Linked DNA regions of Homo sapiens: region 2 is linked to region 1. The links are contacts of gene promoters, found by promoter capture Hi-C in human tissues and cell types (Jung and others, 2019). All regions are on one chromosome and are shown on one strand. The core of a region is centred on a gene start or on the middle of the fragment in contact, and the rest is flanking DNA. Distances in the headings are between cores, read along the strand shown.

Region 1 (2,700 bases), core at 2-2,501:
TGTGTTTTATAAGCTACACGGTCTATGGTGTTTTGCTAAAGCAGCCTGAATAGACTAAGAAATCACTCAACAAACACTAATTAAATTAAATGCTAGGCCATCAGAATACGAAGGGGAAGAAGACAGAAACACTCGCCTCCTGATCCAGCATCCAGAACGCTCTGGGGCCCAGCAAGAGGCTGTGCTCGCGTCTTTCTCGTATCTGATCTTCGCCTCCATCCACCTGCTCGCTGGTCCTTGGCTGTGCCTCTGATACCCCAGTGTGAGAACGTGGAGTTTCTTAAGGCAATTCTCTTATCATATTTTCTCTACTTGTCACAACAAACTTACAGGAAAGTTGTTATTCCATGCGTTTTAGAGCTGGGGAGCATAGCCCCCGTGGGCTGAGCAGCTGGCCGAAGTCCTCAGCCCCTGTGGTGAGGTGCAGCTGGAGTGTGATTCTCCGGGTCCTCAGATGGGGGCATCCCCTTGAGGCCCCGCCTCTTGGCCAGGCTGCAGCCCAGGACCGTGCCAGGTGTGTGTTATCTATATTTGGACACACGCTGTGCGAAACGACGGGCACCCTGCAATTATCCGTGTGGTGTAGACGCAGTGTACGTCTGTGGTAATGGCTATAAATAAGCCCCGACTTGCCGACTAGGCACCGCTCCTCTTTTGGGTAGGCAGTTCTTGCTAAAATAGCCCTAAGATACAATCGAGTGAAGACCTGAGTCGTTCTTGAAATAAAAAAAAAAAAACGAACAAACACACGAACATGCACACACACGCTCACAAACCCAGGGGCTTGTGCACCTCCCTCCCTCCACAGCCGACCTCAACTCGGGTGTCCAGGCCTGCGAATGGCACAAATGCTCACTGAAATCCATGTCATTATTAAAGACTCATTCAGGAGTTGCAATTTGTGAGCCAGGGAACCTGTAGCTCGAAAGGATTGAAGATATGTCTGAGAATTCACACGTAAGGATTAGAACTCATGGAGGAGAGTTGCGGGGAGGGAGCGTGGGAAGTCAGTGCCCTGCCCTCTCTTTCTGGGTCGGGGGCTGAAGTGTCACACCCGGTTTCCTGGGAAAAGTGCAGTTTGGGACTCAGAAAGGACACGTTCCAGTTTTGAATCGTGATTTCCCCCGCCCTCAGTTTGAACAAGAAGCTTTTCCTCCTGAGGTCAGGCTGGTGATTTACGATGTGGGTATTGATGTGGGGAGAGGCAGGCCCAGGCGTCTATATATAGTAGCTCCTCAGACCTTAAACGGGAGGGAGGCACAGGCGCTTGCTTTGCAGGAGTCAGCTCTGCCTTCCTCGGCTGGAGTGTGGGTGGCTTGGTGAGCCGGTGGTCAGGAATTCTCTCTCCTCCTTGCAATTTTCCTTTCTGTCTGGGTAAGTGTCTTTCTCTTCTTGCCTTTTCTAATTTGTGGCTTTAAGGGGAGGACCGGTAACTTCTGCACTCACATTTTCTAAGTACCTCTACTTCAGGGTCAAGAAGAGAGAGCCAGTGCACCCCGTCGCAGGCACCCTTTACTGTGGAAAACAGAGCAATTAGTTCTGGGATCTGTATTTCTTTGACGAGGTTTTATGCTCAACTAACATTTTATTTCCCACAGCCGTGGTCTTTGCTAAGTGCCGTTTAGCACCCTGCGGCGTGTGCTTTGGGTTTTAGCCCTGGTCTCATCGTGGCCCCAGGGGGCCCCCCAGTCAGTGGACTGATGTCTGCAAGTTTCATGAGATTCTCAGAAACGAAAGCCTCCCCCGAGGAGAGGGCTGACTTATAAAGGTGTGAAATAATAAAACTGGATATTTTCTTAAGGGAAAAAAGAGTCGAGGGTCATTCAGCTTAGACCTAGCCTATATTATCCACGGTATGGGAAAGAGAACAATCCTTGTCAGGACTTGCAAGTTTTTGCCCAAAAATGACAGCGTTCTTACGGCTGTTTTCTTCTTTGTGCTGTTGGGTGTGTTGTGACCCTTCAGACTTCTTCAGCTCCACTCCGCTGATAGAGGCTGTGCCTTCTCAGGGCGTGCTCTTGAAATGCAACCTGCTGGAGAAAGACAGTGGGGCTGGGTGGTTGCACGTGGAAGGCACCGGAGGCAAACGGAAGGAAGGGGTTTGCCATCACTGGGAACACCTGGCCTTTTCTAATTCTCCATTTCACATTCCTTTCTTACTAAGTAGAAGTAAAACAGGACTCAAAGAAAGCGTGGAACAAAGATAATTTAAGGCGTTATTTAATAAACCAAGTCCCAAGCTAAAACTTGTCTTGGGAGCCAAGGGCTTAGCCACTTGTGGCACAGGCCAACGCTGCGTGTCTGGGAGTCCCTTTCCCCTCTAGAAAGCTTTAATTTGGTGTATTTATTGACTTTGACATTTTTAACTGTACAAACAATTTCCTTCATTAAGTGGAAGTCAATGTTTTGTACTTCAAACATTTTTGCAAATTAAAACCCATCCTGGTGACATGAGGAATGGGCTCCACACGTTGTTTGCAGGAAGGAATTAGGATGGGGATATCAGACACGTGGTCCCCTGCACTGGAGGAGAGGCTCGCGTTTCATCCTGGTGTCATGATTCCTAAACGTGTCAGGAGCATTCCGGGAGTGGCCGGGGAGCTGGGCTGTGGTGGAAAGTGGGCTGGACGCTGTCAGGAGAGTCAGCTGGCGCCTGGGTTCGGCCGTGGCCCTACCGGTGACCCGGGCAAGTCATATTTC
Region 2 (2,700 bases), core at 166-2,665, 34 kb after region 1:
TATGCTGATTAAATTCTCTTTTCTCTTCCAACAAAACTACTTGTTTGGCTGAGACCTGTGCCATCAAACTAATATTTTGATATGCTAGAGACAGTTCTGCAGGGAGTGCTGTTCCGGGCTTACCTTGAATTAAGCAACTACAGCAAGAAAAACAAACCCTCAAAACGATCTTCTTTTCTCCTGGGACAGCTGATAAGTTTTCCCGCCATGTTGACAAAAACCATTTCCTGCACTGTCTCAGCTAACAATCCACGCTCCTCCCCTCATTACAAAAAGCGCAAACATGAAATTCAAAGCAACGGAACACTTTGGGAATGAGGGTGCATTTGGAAGTGGGGGGTGCAGCTCCTCCTCTGCCCTTCCTTTGGGCTTACGACTTGCCAGCTGTTGCCTGAAGTTGCAGGTTTTCCCATCAGACTTTTGGTTTTGACCTGTTGTTCTCTTCGGCTAAAACAGCCCATGACATGTGGATCAGACAGCTTTCATTAAAAGTGCTGGATACTTAGGAGGAGAGCTGGTTCTTTCCCAGATGAAGGCACCACTCTGGGGTTGAAGTGCTCCCTCCCAACACTGATTTTCTGAACTAGCTCTTTTCTCCTGGGAATTTCATGTGAAGGTTTTTTTCTTACATTTTTCAACCTGTGAAAAACAGAGGTTAATCTTTCCTATATTTCCAGGTTTCTGGTCAGGAATTAATATTTTCAAAAGACTTCTAAATTCCACATGAGAGGCATTCTAGAAAGAAATGTCCTAACATTATTCTAGGAGACTGTAAGCCAGCTTTCCCAGGGACCTGGGCCCTTGGTCTCACAGAGTGGGACGGGAGCTGGAGGCAGAGGGGGCTGAGCCTGTTTCCCCAGCCTGGGCCTCAGACGGGCCAAGCCGCAGCTTAGGGGTGCCGTGACTATGTCACGTAAGTCGGAACAAGAACTGTTCAGGATGCGTCTAAAATAATTTTTTGAGGAGATTTTTGCCTAAATGTGTTTGATGACAGAAATTGATCTTCAGCTATAAATTATTAAGATTCATGGGCATATATTACATATATAATAGATATTACATATAATATATATATTGCATTTTCTAAATAGCTCTGTCTTCTAATGTTTATCTATACAAGTCAATATCTTAGCAGCAAAGATTTTACTGGCGTGAGATATTGTCCTGTTATAATCAGTGTGTGCATATATGCATATACCTATGTATATTTAGTAGGTTGCCACATTTGCTATTCTCTGTTGTTTTTCTTTTTTTAACTTGAAGATGTGAAGTAGGAACGAATAATTGGGTGCAGTGCAATGATGCACCGGTGAAAATCTGCAAATACCCGGTCACAGGGCTTTTTGAAGGAAGGTCTTACATATTCCGAGTGAGGGCAGTGAACAGTGCGGGCATCAGCCGACCCTCCAGGGTCTCTGATGCGGTGGCTGCACTTGACCCCTTGGACCTCAGAAGGTTACAAGGTAAGCTGCTCACGCCTAAGTATCCACTGTGCCCAGGAAGCTTTGGCTGTTTTGTGTGTGATTTGTTGTCTCTTTCCCTCCCAACTCGATGTGAGCCCTGAGAATGCCCTGTGTGCAGAGCATAGCACAGGCTGTTACAACGTTCTCTGACATCTCCACCAACATCACTACAGGAATGAAAACGGGCTGACGTACACTCTAAAATGAATGTGCCTCTCCTCCAGAAAGCTCTTTGCTGGCATCCAGTTAAATTGGCTCAGAATTAGACCTTTTTTTTATTCCATTGGTGATATAATTTCAACACATAATGACACTTAGAAGGCCATCCTATTCTGAGTTTTAATTTTGCATGACACAGATTCCTTAATGGGACTGGGCCCTTCGTTATGGTTGTAAGCGAGCCACTATATTTTCCTTACGCACATGGTCCTTTGCATCCACCACCAAGAGCTGAGAAGTGCTAACTGTTACCAGGACACTTCCAGAATCAGCTCTGATGCCCCCAGAGGACTCACAGGTTGTAGTCCTAATGCAGAGGAGATGCAGAGCTGGCACAGAATGAGGGAAAACGGGCTTTTGGGGAAAACTTCGCATGTCAAATCGAGTGTCAACCTTTCTCTCCGCAGCCGTTCATTTGGAGGGAGAGAAGGAGATTGCCATTTATCAGGATGACCTTGAAGGTAAGTAGCACCTCATCACCCCAGCTGCTCAGCCCCTGGGGATTTGGAGTTGTAATTAGAGATGGGAGAGATGGACAGAGAACGCCCCCTACTGGGCACGGCCTCTGCATGGAAAAATGAAAACCGCAGGTCAGGCCTGCAAGCCCAGTGTCCATAGAAGTTAAAAAAAAGAAAAAATCAAGCAAGACAGAGTGAGAGGGTGGGAGAAAGGGTGAAGGATTGGTGACTCTTAGACTCACCTTTCATTTGGGGTTTACAAAGGCGTTCTTTCAGGGACTTGTAGAGAAGAAACCAAACTAAAGCTCAGACTTGGTTCCTGGGTGATGTAAGATCCTTTCTCACAGATTGCATTGTGAAATCGATTTCATTTTACATTTTCTAAGCAAAAATTTTATTCCTGACATTTTAACTGAAATGGATTGAGTCTTTCCTGCCAAATGATGTTCTTGGTCCTTATGTATATTTGATTTTGTGGATATTTCTTCTTCCTGATTTTCCTTTTAGAGACCTTTAGAAAGAATGACGTGTTAAGGAGAATCCAACATTATTAACTAGAA

Evidence for each region. The method cuts DNA at HindIII sites, captures the fragments that hold promoters and counts their contacts. A contact is called where the count stands out against the background at its distance.
Region 2: a fragment that was not itself captured here is called in contact with the fragment with the promoter of MYOM2 in region 1 in 7 of the 25 tissues and cell types used here (H1 embryonic stem cells, bladder, heart left ventricle and 4 more).

Annotation. Positions count from the first base shown.
Region 1 is chr8:2,043,795-2,046,494 of GRCh38, forward strand. It overlaps MYOM2 (myomesin 2), which reads left to right and starts at 1,252. Exons shown (of 37, transcript NM_003970.4): 1 at 1,252-1,374. The HindIII fragment of the contact is 6,844 bases long and covers 1-2,700 here.
Region 2 is chr8:2,077,471-2,080,170 of GRCh38, forward strand. It overlaps MYOM2 (myomesin 2), which reads left to right. Exons shown (of 37, transcript NM_003970.4): 12 at 1,264-1,463; 13 at 2,090-2,143. Among named protein-coding and RNA genes, the nearest start is that of MIR7160, 2.2 kb to the left of the region's middle. The HindIII fragment of the contact is 7,731 bases long and covers 1-2,700 here.